2 separate regions of the Homo sapiens genome follow, and region 2 is linked to region 1. Evidence: promoter capture Hi-C in human tissues and cell types (Jung and others, 2019). All regions are on one chromosome and are shown on one strand. Each heading gives the region's core, a stretch centred on a gene start or on the middle of the fragment in contact. The rest is flanking DNA. Distances are from core to core; before and after follow the strand shown. Region 1 holds the start of KRTAP5-9 (keratin associated protein 5-9). Region 2 has its middle 20 kb from the start of KRTAP5-7.

Evidence for each region. Contacts are between HindIII fragments. The study calls those that stand out against the background at their distance.
Region 2: a contact is called between a fragment that was not itself captured here and the fragment with the promoter of KRTAP5-9 in region 1, in 3 of the 25 tissues and cell types used here (dorsolateral prefrontal cortex, mesendoderm cells and thymus).

What each region holds. Positions count from the first base shown.
Region 1 is chr11:71,543,902-71,551,638 of GRCh38, forward strand. KRTAP5-9 (keratin associated protein 5-9) reads left to right here and starts at 4,519. Exons shown (of 1, transcript NM_005553.4): 1 at 4,519-5,707. The coding sequence starts at 4,757. The coding sequence ends at 5,266. RefSeq lists enhancers at 4,392-4,937, 4,938-5,482, 5,025-5,084, 6,483-6,532. The HindIII fragment of the contact is 7,685 bases long and covers 3,031-7,737 here.
Region 2 is chr11:71,503,484-71,511,220 of GRCh38, forward strand. It overlaps the pseudogene S100A11P3. Among named protein-coding and RNA genes, the nearest start is that of KRTAP5-7, 20 kb to the right of the region's middle. RefSeq lists an enhancer at 1,888-2,478. The HindIII fragment of the contact is 5,651 bases long and covers 1,406-7,056 here.

The sequences.
Region 1 (7,737 bases), core at 3,269-5,768:
AGTTAGTTCAGCCAACACCCAGGAATGAACAAGGACAGCTTGGAGATTAGAAGCAAGGTGGAGTGGGCTAAGTTAGATCTCTCACTGTCTCAGTCATAACTTTGCAAAGGCGGTTTCAAGCCCAGCTGCCAACCAGAGGAACTCACTCAACACGTGAGCAGCAGGCAGAAGCAAGAGCCTTCCCCTGAGAAATAGGAAGGAAATCCTAGCCTCGCCCCCGCAACCACTGACTGAACGGGACCCCTCTTGGCCAAGGGGGTGTCGACAAAAAGTGTCAAACTCTGTAAAATATTTTAAAAGATTCTGAGCCGAACATGACTGACAAATGGCCCGTGACACAGCCCTCAGGAGGTCCTGAGAGCAGGTGCCCAAGAGGTTTGGGGTGCAGCTTGGTTTTATATATTTTAGGGAGACATGAGACTTTAATCAAATACATTTAAGAAATACTAAGGCCTAAACTCTGTTGTTGTTTTTTTTAATCTTGCTCAAATTCCTATCTAAGGGGTCTGCGCATGCCCTACAAATCATAAACTCTCAACAGACAGGTTTTGTTTAGCCCTAAATATTGTGACTTACTTTCCAACCCGACTCTGGCATAACATTATGAGACAAGGAAGAAAATCAAAATACTTTACCCCAAAACATGTTTCTTTGCTGTATTTTGAAATGGCCCTGCAGAGCGTCCTTTGTGGGGGAAAATTTGGATCTGCAAAGAATCTCTATTAACATAGCTAGATCTTTTTCTTCCAGACCCTCCCAGTCCTAAAGAGATTAACTAAGGTCTGAATAGGAAACATTTGTCATCTATTGTCTCTAAGGGCAGCCACTATCAGACTTCAAAAGAACTTTGGTCTCCACAATCTTTATCTTAACTTGAACTTTCCCTTCCTATCCATCCCAGGTCTTTAGACAAACTCAACCAACCGTGAACCAGAAAATGTTTAAATTTACCTATAGCCTGGAACCCCCTCACCCCCCATCCCCCACCACCCGCTTTGAGTTGTCCCGCCTTTCTGGACCAAACCAATGTAATTTTGAAATGTATTTGATTGATGTCTCCTGCCTCCCTAAAATGTGTAAAACCAAGCTGTACCATGACCACCTTGGGCCCATGTTCTCAGGACCTCCTGAGGGTTGTGTCTCAGGCCATGGTCACTCATATTGGGCCCAGAATAAATCTCTCTTCAAATATTTTACAGAGTTTGACTCTTTTTGTCGACATTACATTGGTTTGGTCCAGAAAAGTGGGACAACTTGAAGGGTGGGGAGTGCTTCCAGGCTATAGGTAGATGTAAAAATTTTCCGGTTGACAGTTGGTTGAGCTTGTCTAAAGACCTGGGATCAACAGAAAGGAATGTCTGGGTTAGGATAAAGGATCATGGAGACCCAGGTTGTTATTTGCAGAGGAAGCCTTTAGGTAGCAGGCTTCAGAGAGAAGAGGTTGTGAGACGTTTGTTATCGGACTTAAAGTCTGTGTGGATGTTAATGCCAGAGAGGTAGAATGAGGCATGTCTGACCCCCACTGCCCATCATAGTGTCTCAGGTTAAATTTTAAAACAGCCCTGGCTGAGGAGGAAGTCCATTCAGATGGTCGGGGAGGAGGTCTTAGAATGTTATGTTTGGTTAACCGGGAAACCTTGGAAGCTGAGTTCCTGGCTACGGGGGGATGGGAAGCTGGACTTGCGCCCTTCTCCTACTCCCTGGCCAGCCATGACCCAGCTCCCTCCCCTCAGGGAAAACAGAAACCAATTCTGTGGAGACTGCACTGAGGAGATCAGTGTACCCCTGACATTGCCCCCTCCTTCTTGATAGGAGATCCACCACGGAGAGGCCCTGGCCATTCTACGGAAGAGGCGCAAGGAAGTCTTCTGAGTCCGCTGCTTCACCTTTTGACATCAGAGGGCCAAAAGCTCCACCCTCAGATCAGGCTAACACCTCTGGTTTTTGCACATAGAGAGGGGGTGAAGCTGGATTGCGCATATGCCTGGTTTTGGGTCTGCAGTTGGTTCCTGCTGGTGGGTTCGTGGTCTCGCTGACTTCAAGAATGCACCCATGGACTTTCACGGACCTTCGCAGTGAGTGTTACAGCTCTTAAAGATGGCACAGACCCAAAGAGTCAGTGGCAGCAAGGTTTATTGTTTATTCGCGAAAGGACAAAGCTTCCACAGCGTGGAAGTAGACCCGAGTGGGTTGCCGCTGCTGGCTGTGTGGCCAGCTTTTATTCCCCTATTGGCCCCGCCCATGTTCCGTTTCTGTCCTATCAGAGTGCCTTTTTTTCAATCCTCCCTGCGATTGGCTACTTTCAGAATCCTGTGCAGATTGGTGTGTTTTACAATCCTCTTGCAAGACAGGAAAGTTCCTGATTGGTGCATTTTACAATCCTCTTGTAAGACAGAAAAGTTCCCCAAGTCCCCACGGGACCCAAGAAGTCCAGCTGGCCTCATGTCTCAGTTTCTCCTCTTATCAATATTCATGTCCCTCCCACAGCTTATTGAATATGCATATTCAGCCACCCCCACTCAGTGTAGATCTCTGCTTTATTCTTCCCTCCCTCCAAGTGTCTGTTTCCAGCTTCCTACCAGAGGCTGCGCCTCCCAACCAGTCAGAACAGCCACACTCAGCCCGCAGCACTTTATGAGAAGTAAAGCGCTCCTTTCCAAATTGACGACCTCGTCCTTCTTCAGTTAACACCTCCCTCTCTCAATGACGATGATGGAGCATGTCCAGGTGTTGGTGACACAGCTACATGGCTGCGTGTGGGATAAAGTCGCTGCCCCTTCAGAACTCACACCCCCCTGGAGTGGGACACACACCTCTAAGAACAAACAAGGATGAGAGCAGAGCCAGCTTGGCATCGTGGGAATCAATAAATGAAACAGAAAGTGCAAGGTGGTGGGGGTAGCTATCTCGGGACGGGGTGTCAGAGGTGGATCTGAGTTGGGCAGACAGGAGGGACGCAGTCCAGGGCGGTCCTGGGTGAGTCTGTTCCATGTAAGGAACTGCCAGCACACAGGTCGTAAGGAGGAGTGCGGTGTGGCCCCGGCACCAATCCAGGGCTGGATGAAGAATGATTGAGGCAGTCTGAAGATGACACCAAGTCATTCTCCTCCCACGGAGAGGTGGACTTTCTCTTCTCTCTGCAATCTGGGCTGGCCTCAGTGACTTGAGGAGGGAGAAATACTCTAGGATTCCTAGGCTGGGTCATAAGGCACCTTCTAGCCTCTGCTCGAGTGACCTCCTAGGAAGTACAGCTGCCCTGAGCCCACCATGCTGTGAGGAAGCCCAAGCCAGCCGTGGGAAGAGGCCGTGAGGTGGGGGAGGGGAGGGAGATCTGTCCGGCCTCACCTGTTGTAGCCATCCCATAGGTGTGTGAACACAGCATCTTGGACAAGCCAGCCCCAGCTGACATAATTTACAGAAAAACCAAGGAACCCTGCAGACAGCCGGAACTGAGGTCCCAAAATACAGCCCAGCCAAGCCATGCTGCCATCGTTAGCCATTGGTACCTTCCCAATTGAGACCCCACAAATCATGCGGCCTGTGCCACCATCCAGTGCCGGATCTGAACTACTGATCCACTGAGCTTTGGGCTGATTGGTTCTGCAACGATGGGTGGCCAAGGCCACGGTCAAATCCAGCTGGAGAGGTGGATGGGGCCAGTGTCAGGGGTTTGGATTTCACCCCAAGTCAGCTGAGGCACACTGGAATGTCGTAAGCCTGCACATCCACTCATCACACATTTTAACCGCATCTGAGTGTGGACCGTACCGATGGGTTCCTGCACCTGCAGCCTCCACACCATTGCTGGTGCCCTGCCTCCTAGCTGGAGTATCCTTCCTGTCTCTTGGCTGCTCTTTGTACCCATCATGGTCCCCCTACCACCCTCCAAGTTCTGCTCCAAGCTTTGTTTTCCTCCAAGAGAAGAACCTGTCCAGACAATAGTTTCAAAGCAGCGGGAAGCTCTGCTCACGTGTCCCCAAGGACCATGCTGTGTGAAATTCCCTTCTGTAATCACAGAGCCCATTGCCCTGGCCTATTCCTGGTCCAGGAATAGGGAGGAGGTAGACAGAGGATGCCTCCTTCCCCACTGCTGAGAACCCTGCCATCCTCAGCCACAGTTGCCACAGAGAAGATACCACATCCCTGGGGGAATCAGCAGGAATCAGGTAGAGAGTGGCACTGCTCTGGGGAGGGAGGGCGTCTCACAGCATCAAACGTCAAAAACCCACAACATTGACCCAGTCCTGCCAAGACGGAACCCTGCATGAGCATGGGGGATGGGGAGTTGGGGTGTTGCAAAAGACGCAATACATGAATGATCTCAGGTAATTCTCAGGCAACCCCCGGAGGCTGGTGTTGCTAGCACCCCTCTGCAGGAGAAGAAGCTGGGGCTCGGGAGCTGACTGGATCTGCTCAAAGGCCCAGGAAGAATAAGAGTTAGGAACTGGGACAGACCTTGAGGAAGCTGCACTTCCTCCTGAGGTGAGCCAGCGTTGGAGCTGTTTTTCCTTTCAGTATGAATTCCACAAGGAAATCATCTCAGGAGGAAGGGCTCATACTTGGATCCAGAAAATATCAACATAGCCAAAGAAAAACAATCAAGACATACCTCCAGGAGCTGTGTAACAGCAACCGGAAAGAGAAACAATGGTGTGTTCCTATGTGGGATATAAAGAGCCGGGGCTCAGGGGGCTCCACACCTGCACCTCCTTCTCACCTGCTCCTCTACCTGCTCCACCCTCAATCCACCAGAACCATGGGCTGCTGTGGCTGCTCCGGAGGCTGTGGCTCCAGCTGTGGAGGCTGTGACTCCAGCTGTGGGAGCTGTGGCTCTGGCTGCAGGGGCTGTGGCCCCAGCTGCTGTGCACCCGTCTACTGCTGCAAGCCCGTGTGCTGCTGTGTTCCAGCCTGTTCCTGCTCTAGCTGTGGCAAGCGGGGCTGTGGCTCCTGTGGGGGCTCCAAGGGAGGCTGTGGTTCTTGTGGCTGCTCCCAGTGCAGTTGCTGCAAGCCCTGCTGTTGCTCTTCAGGCTGTGGGTCATCCTGCTGCCAGTGCAGCTGCTGCAAGCCCTACTGCTCCCAGTGCAGCTGCTGTAAGCCCTGTTGCTCCTCCTCGGGTCGTGGGTCATCCTGCTGCCAATCCAGCTGCTGCAAGCCCTGCTGCTCATCCTCAGGCTGTGGGTCATCCTGCTGCCAGTCCAGCTGCTGCAAGCCCTGCTGCTCCCAGTCCAGATGCTGTGTCCCTGTGTGCTACCAGTGCAAGATCTGAGGCTCTAGTGGGAAACCTCAGGTAGCTCCTGAAGATCTGTGCTTTCCAACAAGTGACTACCCTTGAAGCACATCCCCTTCTGGATCTGAAAAGAGCCCTTGGCTCAGGGCGTCTTTTTCCAGCCCCTGAGGAAATGGAATGAACCACTCCCTGCCCATTCCCTATAAGAATATCCCAAGACCCAGGCAATTTTGCCCCTCTTTCCCACATGCCCCCATATGTCTGAGCCAAACTGCACTGGGGGCTGCCCTCATGCCAAGCAAGAGCCTGGAATTCCCCTTCTTGATAATTCCATGGGAGACAGCAAACCCTTCTTTCCTTTGCCTGCCAGGAGCTTCACGACATTTGCAGATGGATGTCCTGCAACCCAAATGATCACATGTATCTATGGAAATCCAAAATGCATCTGGGTGCAGCACTAAATAAATTCTCCATCCCTCAGCCTTGGTCTCACTGACTCTTTTCTTCCAGCCTCTGTCTCATTGGCAAACTGGCCACATGTCCTTCCCCTCCTCCCTGATAGCTTATTGCTCCCACTGCTGTAACAGTGTGCCAGGCCCAGCTCCCATTCCAGAAACAGTTGTTGAACTGATTAATGAAGGAACCACTAGCAGTATGTATGAATGAATGAAGACGAGGAATGAATGAGTGAATGAGTGAGTATCTCTCATTAGTACACAGGGAGTCCCAGCTGTATCTCAGTGGGATTCAGTCTGTCTTGGTTGGAATTTGGACTCCTACTTCTTCCCCATGGGAGGATATGTTTGGGAGAGAAGGAGAACTTTGCCCTCAGTGCCTAGGAAGGGATGTAATGGGTGCTCTCTGGGTCCAGCCAGTCCCCAGTTTGTGGGTCAAGCCAGGAGATGGGGAAGCGAGACTAGAATGAGCTGTGTCCCTGAGATGCTCTGTAGGACAACACTGGAAACTGTGCTGCTTCAAGGATCCAAGACGGTGTGGCTGAACACAGGCTGAAGTGCACCCTCCATCTCTGGGCTCAGAGTGAGGAGGAATCCAAGTGTCCACAGGCTTCCCAGCTTTGGTTTGGCACAGGGAGGAACAGAAGGGACTTTTCTCAGCCTGATAAAGGCCATCTACCCACAGTGAACACGGTGCTTAACTATGAAAACCTGGATGTTTTCCCCTAGGATCAGGAACAGGAAAAGAATGTCCACACCCACCACTTCTATGCAACATTTCACTGAAGCTATAGCCAGAATAACATAACAGGAAAAGAAAATAAAGCCATCCAGGTAAGAAAAAAGGAAGCAAAACTATCTCTATTCACAGAAAACCTCATCTTGTATACAGAAGATGCTGAGGGACACACACACACACACACACACACACACACACACAACTATTAGAGCCAATAACCGAGCTCAGCAGAGTGCAGAACACAAGGACTATACACAATAGTCAGCTGTGTTTCTTTACAACAGCAAAAAGCAAGCAAAAAGGTTGTAAGGAAACAATAAAATTCCTGGGAACAAATGCAACCAAAAAAGTACAAGACTTGGACACTTAACACTACAAAACACCATTGGAAGAAGTTAAGGAGGACCAAAGTAATGGGGGAAAAAATCCTATGTTCATGTATTGGAAGACCTAATATTGTGAAGATTGAAACACTCCAAAAAAAAATTGTTCTACCAATTTAATGCAATTCCGATCAACATCTCAGATTTCTTTTTTCAAAAATTGACAAGTTGATCCTAAAATTTATGTGGACATTCAAGGGACCCTAAATAGCTAAAACAATCTTGAAAAAGAAAAGCAAAGTTTGAGGACTCAGGTTTTCCAATTTCTAAATGGGCTGCAAAGCTACAGTCATCAAGGCAGCATGGCTCTTGCATAAGGATAGAAAGATGGATCAATGGGGTAGGTTTGAGACTCTTGAAATAAAGCCTCACAGTTGTGGTCAATGTATTTTCACAGGTACTATACAATTCCATGGGAAAAGAGGAATGTTTTCAACAAACAATGCTGCTAAGACAACTGGATGTCCACATGCAAAAGAGTGAATTTGAATCTTGACCTCATACCATATACCAAACAAACAAAAAAAAAATAGAAAAAATAGATCAATGACCTAATTGTAAAAGCCAAAACTAGAGGATTACTAGAAGCAAAACAGGTTAAGTTTTCATGACCTTGGAGTATGAAATGGTTCTTAGATAATGACACCAAAACCACAGGGAAAAACTAGATTAACTAACTACATCAAAACGAATAGTTTTTGTGCTTCTGAGGGCACTATGAAGAAAATGAAGATACACCAACAGAGTGGAAGAAACTACTTTGAAATCATATATTTGATAAGAACTTGCATCTAGACATATAAAGAATTCTTACTACTCAAACACACAATCCAATTAAAGACCCAGCAGAGGATTTAAATAGGCATTTTCCAAAGAAGATATACAAATGGCTAATAAGCACATGAAAAGGAGCTCAACATTGTTAGACATCAG
Region 2 (7,737 bases), core at 2,981-5,480, 41 kb before region 1:
TCATAGGTTAGTATCTTCTGGTTACAGGATAGCATCCCGTCAGTTACAGGGCAGTGTCCCCCCAGTCATAGCATAGTGTATCCCCAAGTTACAGGGTAGTGTCCCCAGTTATAAGGCAATGTTCCCCCATTATAGTGTCCCCAGTTATGAGGTAATGTCTCCCAGTTACAGGGTAATGTCCCCCAGTTATAGGGTGATGTCCCCACAGTTATAGGGTGATGTCCCCACAGTTATAGGGTGATGTCCCCACAGTTACAGGTGAATGTCCCCCCAGTTATAGGGTGATGTCCCCCAGTTATAGGTGAATGTCTCCCCAGTTATAGGGTAAGTCCCCACAGTTATAGGGTGACGTCCATCAGTTATAGGGCAATGTCTCCCCAGTTACTGGGCTGTGTCCCCCAATTACAGGGCAATGTCCCCTCATAGTGTCTCCCAGTTATACAGTATTGTCCCCCCATTATAAGGTAGTATCCCCAGTTACTAGATAGTGTCCCCCAGTAACAGGATAATGTCCCCCAATTGCAGGGCAATGTCCCCCATTATAGTGTCCCCAAGTTATAAGCTGGAGTCCCCCAGTAACAGGATAATAGGATAGTGTTCCCCAGTACAGGGCAGTGTCCCCAGTTACTCACTAGTGTCCCCTAGTAACAGGGCAGTGTCCACCCAGATACAGCCTAGTGTCCCTCAGTTACACAATAGTGTGTCCCCCAGTGGTAGGACAGTCTACTACTGAGTCCTCCTGGCATGAGTCGAGCTGAGATTAGGATAGGGTAATGACCCTTCAGTTTTGGGGAAGGGACCAGAGCTCGGCCAGTGAGAAGCTTCCAGCTCCGTCTGGCCATATCCAGGCTGCTGAGGGTCCTGGGCTCTGTCCTTAAACCTCATCACTGACATGACCCAGCAAACCTCCTCAAGAGGAAAAAGTCCCCTTGGGTCAAACACAGCTTGTGCAGTTCTCGGGGACCTCCTCCTGCCATCCTGGGGATGCTGTGGAGAATGGAGATGCACAGGGGGCTTTGTCCTCTCCTCTGCCTTTTGGAGAAAATATTTCACTCAAGGCAAACGCAGCCTGAGGGCAGCACAGGGGACCCCAAGGCTCACTGCGCATTTCTAGTCGCCCCCAAACGCGTGGGTTTTCCTCCTGTTCTCCTCGTGGGTGCCTTTGCTCATTCTCATCCTCCTGTTCTCATCCAGTCTGCCCAGTCTGACCGGCTCCCAGCAGCATCCGCCCAAAAGTTTCTCCCATGACAGCAGGAAGCAGCCTCAGACAATACATGATGGACAGGCCTGGCTGTGTTCCAATAGAACCCCGAGTCAGTCAGCCCGAGCCTCCCTCTCAGCTGGATACTGTTAATGACAGGGGTACACATTCCCCTCCCCTTTCCAATGTTTTAAAACTCTAGGACAGTGATTCTCAAACACTTTGGTCTCAAAACCCCTAAGAGCATTTGCTTATGTGGCTTTTATCTGTTGATAGTTGCTACCTGAGAAATTAAAACTGAGAAATCTAAAAATAGATTTATTTTAGGAAGTCACTAAAAATAATAAGCCCATTGCATGTTAACATGAAATAGCATATTTTTACAAAAAAATAAATTTTCTAAAAACAAAACATCTAAGTGAGAAGAGTGGCATTGTTGTACTTGTTTTGCAAATCTTTTCAGTGTCCGGTTTATGAGATGACAGCACTTTGGTTTGTTGCCAACCATTCACTTATAAAGAAACCCTTTTCCAATAATTAGCTGGGGCTGGTGCTAGAGCAATACCAGAAGTTCAGCGATGTCTGTAGATTTGTCCAAATGTATGTGAAGAGACTGTGTTTACTCAGTTTTTATGTTTGCAGTTAAATCTTCAATTTGATGAGTTATTTTATCATTGCAAAGTGGCAGTGTCAGGGTTTCCTTTATTGACTTATCCAGCAGGCATTCAGCTATATCAACTCTACATATGAAGTAAGGAGTTGAATTAAGCAGAGTAGTTAATAAAAAGCTTTTTTTTTTCATGTTTTAAAAATGTGACGTTGTCAGGCCTCTGAGCCCAAGCTAAGCCATCATGTCCTCTGTAACCTGCACGTACACATCCAGATGGCCGGTTCCTGCCTTAACTGATGACATTCCACCACAAAAGAAGTGAAAATGGCCTGTTCCTGCCTTAACTGATGACACTATCTTGTGAAATTCCTTCTCCTGGCTCATCCTGGCTCAAAAGCTCCCCTACTGAGCACCTTGTGACCTCCACTCCTGTCTGCCAGAGAACAACCCCCCTTTGACTGTAATTTTCCTTTACCTACCCAAATCTTATAAAACGGCCCCACCCCTATCTCCTTTCGCTGACTCTTTTCAGACTCAGCCCGCCTGCACCCAGGTGAAATAAACAGCCTTGTTGCTCACACAAAGCCTGTTTGGTGGTCTCTTCACACCGATGCGAGTGAAAACTGTTTTATTTCTACCCGCAGGCGGGGCCTGCCAGAGGAGGTAGGTGTGCTGGGCTCAGGGGACGTGTGGGCTGTGAGGAGGAGATGGTGACAGGAAGCTGGAAGGAAAGGGGGTGGCTTTGGAGGCCAGGCCGAAGGGGCCCTCAGGTCTGCTTGTAGGGTGGGATAGCCTTGAGGAGGGAGTCATGGCAATGCACAGCCAGGCTGCCAATTTTGAATTAAGAAATTCTTGGAAATCTAGCTGCCTGTTACTGTTGACATCCAGTCTTTTCGTCATGCAGTCAAGGACACTGCGGTCCTTCTGCTTCTTTGTGACGGCAGCCTCTTCTGTGTTCATGAAGCTTAGGAACTCCGTCTTGGAGAGAGCAGTTGTAACCATCCTCTCCAGGATCCTTCTGGAAAACAGCAATCAGGGACTCAATGCACCACTCAGTCTCTGCAGGGCTGGAGATTTTTGCCAGGTTGTAGCTGAGTGAGGCATGGGAGGCTGTACTTGGGAGTGGTGTGGAGACCTCTGGTAAAAAGCTTTTGAAAAGGATGATTCTATTCCATTAGGATTGGCTTATATGAGGGGAAAAATAGGATTGTATATAGTTAAAGAAAAAACAATTCATTGGCCCATGTCAGATCTAACAAATCAAAACACATGGAAGCTGTGGCGTCCTAATCAGGGAAAAGGAGCCAGGGTGGCAGGACCAAGGGAAAGCAAAAAGAGAAAGCAGATAAGCTACAAGTCTGCATTTCTTCACAGTCCAGCACACACAGCCCTCCTGTGCATATAGCTCACAATCTTCCCATGCCCAGGTATCACCAGACCCTCAGCTGATAGAAAAATGCAAGTTAGCTCACTGCAACCTTGGCATTGTAGGTATTGTATGCAGCCCTCTTCAGCACATGGCCCAGGAACCATCCTGTAAAATCCCCTGCAAGCCTTTGTCTCCTTGCAGTCAGCTCCTCTTCTCCTGGCCTGCCCATTGCCTTCTTGCAATGTACTTCCTTCCTTTCTTTAATAAATCTGCCTTTTTTTAAAACCTACAAGTTTCTTGGTAAACTCTTTTACCCCTGTGACACCAGCCTCAGATAGTCGCCATCACCCACCATAGAAGCTACTCCTGGAGAGCTGATTATTTTTAATTTGCAGATAATTTATTCGTGTATTTTTCAAATACGTATTGCGACTCCTCTTCTGGTTCTGATGGAACAGCTCATATTTGAGCTACAGAATCACTGAGAACAAGTAGGAAAGCCAGAAAAAATTAACACAAAACAGCAGTTGAAAGCACTAGAGAGAAACCCAGGTGTCCAGGACAGGAGGTGCCTGGATCCTGGTGAGAAGGGAAATGAATGCATCAGGTGCCAGCGCTCCACTCTCCTCCCGTGGGGCCTCTGCCCATTCGTTAGCGACAGAGAGAACAAGAGCACAAGCAGAAAGCAGCTGAGGCATTGGCAGTTCCTTCCGAAAATCAGACTTTAGGGTGACAAAGGCAGCCAGAGCTTGCAGGGCAAAGCTTCCAGGGAAAAGAAGAGCTCAGAGAAGTGAGTCCAGTGTGCAGCAGCTCCTCTTCCCTTGAAGATTATGAAACTGCCTGGGGAAAGAGGACAAGGAGCTAAGCAAAAAGCATCCATGAAGAGCCTTTAAAGCAAAACAGAGATTATGGAGGTTTTGTAGCTCTGGAAAATAAATATTTAATTTTAGGATTAATAAGAAAGGGCTTGGTAAAAACTTAAGGCTTTCTATTGAAACCCCTCAAGACTATATACTGGGAGAAGTACAGGCCAGAAATAGAGACTCCTTCACAAAGAATAAAGCCTGGCCTCTTATCTTACTGCCTCACTGGATCAATGTGATCTGCTGCTTGTCTAACTGTTTCGCAGAAGGAAAACAAATGGTCTCTGCAAGAAAGTAACATCACTCAAAACCTTTCTCAGTTTTTTATACTCTTTATCTGGTATTCAATAAAAGATCACTAGGAACTCTATAAAAATATACTTAAAATGTAATATAAATCATAATACATACAAAGCTATAAAAATATATTCAAAATATCAAACCCAACATAAGCAGAAGAAGAAAAAAATCCAGATAAGAACAGAAATCAGTGAAATTAGAGACAAAAAATAGAGAAAATAAATGAGACAAAAATCTAGTTCTTTAAAAAAAATCAGTAAAATTAACAAACCTCTTGCTAGACCAACAAAGAAAAAAAAGAGAGGATACAAGGATACAAACTATAAGCTTCAGGAATGGATACCAAGTTTGGGGATATCACTACAGACCCCACAGACATGAACCGGATAATGAGCAAACGGTGCAAGCAACTCTACACATAGAAATTCAACAGCTTATGTGAAGCAGACCAACTCCTCAAAAAGCACAAACTACCAACATTCAGCCAGGACAAAATAGATAATTTGGATAGCTCTATAATTATTAGGGGAATTGAATGTGTAGTTTTAAAATGCCAAAAGAAAGTTGGAATTTTAAATTTTCAGATGCAGAGAATTACCAAATTTTTAAAGACTGAACACCAATTCTACATAATCTCTGGAAAATAGTGGAGAAGAGAACCCTTCCAAATTCATTTTAAGGGGCCAGTATTACCCTGATAGCAAAACCAGACAACGACAATACAAAAAAAGAAATAACCAATGCCCCTCATGAACATAGACACAAAATCTTCAACAAAAGAAAGCAAATAGAATCCAGCAATATATTAAAGAATTACAAACCATGACCAAGTGGAGTTTATTCCAAGCATGTAAGACTAGCTCCACATTTGGAAGTAAATCAATGTGATCCACTGTGCTAACAGGCTGTAGAAGAAAACTCACACAATTGCATCAATTGGGACACAAAGAAAGCATTTGGAAATTTTTACCACCTGTTCATAATTTTTAAAAAACTCAGCAAACTAGGATTAGAGTGTCACTTCATCATCTACAAAAAACCTATAGCCAATTTTAGGCTTAATGGTGATAACTGAATGTTTTCCCCTAACATTTGGAGCAATTACAAGTGTCCACTCTCACCACTCTTCAACATAATGAAGTTCTAGCCAGGGCAATAAGGCAAGAGAACTAGAAGATATACAGATGAGAAATGAAGAAATATTTGCACACACCATAGTAGTCTATGTATAAAATCTCAAGGAATCTACAACAAAAACCCAAGAACTAATAACAGTGAGTTCAGCAAGGTCTGAGGATTTAGATCGACACACAAACATCAATCATTTCTCAACCTTACATCTGATTAGGTGTGAATATCAAAAATATATAAGGAATTCAACCAACTTAACAGCAAGAAAACAATTCAATTAAAAATGAGCAAAGGATCTGAACAGTTCTCAAATGAAGAGATATGAATAGCCAACAGATATATGAAAAATGCTCAACATCTCTAAGAATCAGGAAAATGCAAATTAAAGCCACAATGAGATATAACCTCACACCTGTTGGAATCACTGTTATCAAAAAGACAAAAGATAACAAGTGTTGATGAAGATGTAGATAAAAAGGGAACACTTGTACACTGTTAATGGGAATGTAAATTAGTACAGCTGTTAAAAAAATAGTATGGGGGTTCCTCAAAAACTAAAAATAGAATTACCATATTATCTGGCAATTCCACTTCTGGGTATATATCCAAAGGAACTGACATTGATTTGCTGAAGAGATATATTCACTCCCACATTTATTTCAGCATTATTCACAATAGCGAAGATATGGAAGCAAACTAACTGTCTATCAATGGATGAATGGGTAGAGAAAATGTGTATATACACAATGGAATACTATACAGCCTTTAAAAGGAAGGAATTTTTGTCATTCATGACAATGTGGATATAACTAGTGGGGCATTATGCTAAGTGAAAGAAGACAGGCACAGGAAGACAAATATTGTATGACCTCACTTATATCTGGAATCTTAAAAAGCTGGTCTCATAGAAAAAGTATAAAGGTGGTTACCAGGGGCTATGGGTAGGTGGGGAGGAGCAGGGATGGGGCCAGCAGGAGATGTTGACAGAAGGGCATGAAGTTTCAGTTAGACTGGAGGAATACGTTTTAGTGACCTATTGTACTTCATGGTAACCATGGTTTGTTCTCCTTGGGAAGAGTGGGGACGGGTCCCTGAAGCACCAAGTCACTGAAACTTCAATTTATTGTAAGGACAAATTCAAAAGTTGGAAATCAGAGATGAACCAATGTGGATCTTCCAGTGTTGACTCAATATGGGGCAAACATTTTCCCAAGAAAGAGATAGAGGGGAGAAAGCCAGAGTGGAAGGATTACCCCGAGGGCTCTAGGCACAGGGGTGTCCTGGGGATTGTGAGAATTAAAATGTAAACTCCTCACCTAGGTGACAACGGCACGTGGGTGCGAAATTTCAGGCATGATTTTTTTTCCCATCCAGCTCCCAGACTGAGAGAGACTCATTTTAATGCCCTCTGCTGTTACCAACATACGGAACCTCTCGAGGCAACTCTTTCATGGAGTGGGAAGCCGTTCGATGTCTCAGCTTTATGCTGAGATTCAATTGATTTAGTCTTCACCATGAAGTTCTTAAATCCAAGGCCCCGAAGTTCCTAGAACTACCAGATCCCTCAGAGTATTCACCCTGGCTTCATGCTTCCTAATCTCGTGGAATTTCTCTAATGCTACAGGAAACACAGCCATGCACTTAAACAGATGTCTGTTTTTACCAAGAATTTTCAATCATAGCCAGAAACATACCGGGTTCACTGTTTTTCCAGAAGTGGATGTCTACCTTAGAGTTTTCAGGAGGCTTCAAAACATGGCAACCTGAAGTCCCTAGCCTCCAGTAGAAAAATTCTTTCCTTACATTTATGACAGTTTTGCCTTATGTGTTGTGAGGAGCAGTCAAGTTCCGGAGACAGAAATCCGGAAGCACACACTGTCAGGGTCCCTGTTCCTTCCCCTAGGTCGTATCCATGAACCATCCCTTCACTGCTGCCTTGGGAGAGGGGAAGGTGTTCGGGCTGAGGATGAGATCAAACCAAAGTTTAACCACACCTCAGCATTCTATGACTTCACATCGCTGAGTCCATAAGAGAACCAGGACCCTCCAGACCCAGAAAATACTTGGGTGGATCCAAGATGGCCTGGTTCAGCCAAGATGGCTGAATAGGAACAGCTCCGGTCTACAGCTCCCAGCATGAGTGATGCAGAAGACAGGTGATTTCTGCATTTCCATCTGAGGCACCGGGTTCATCTCACTAGGGAGTGCCAGACAGTGGGTGTAGGACAGTGGGTGCAGCACACCGTGTGTGAGCCGAAGCAGG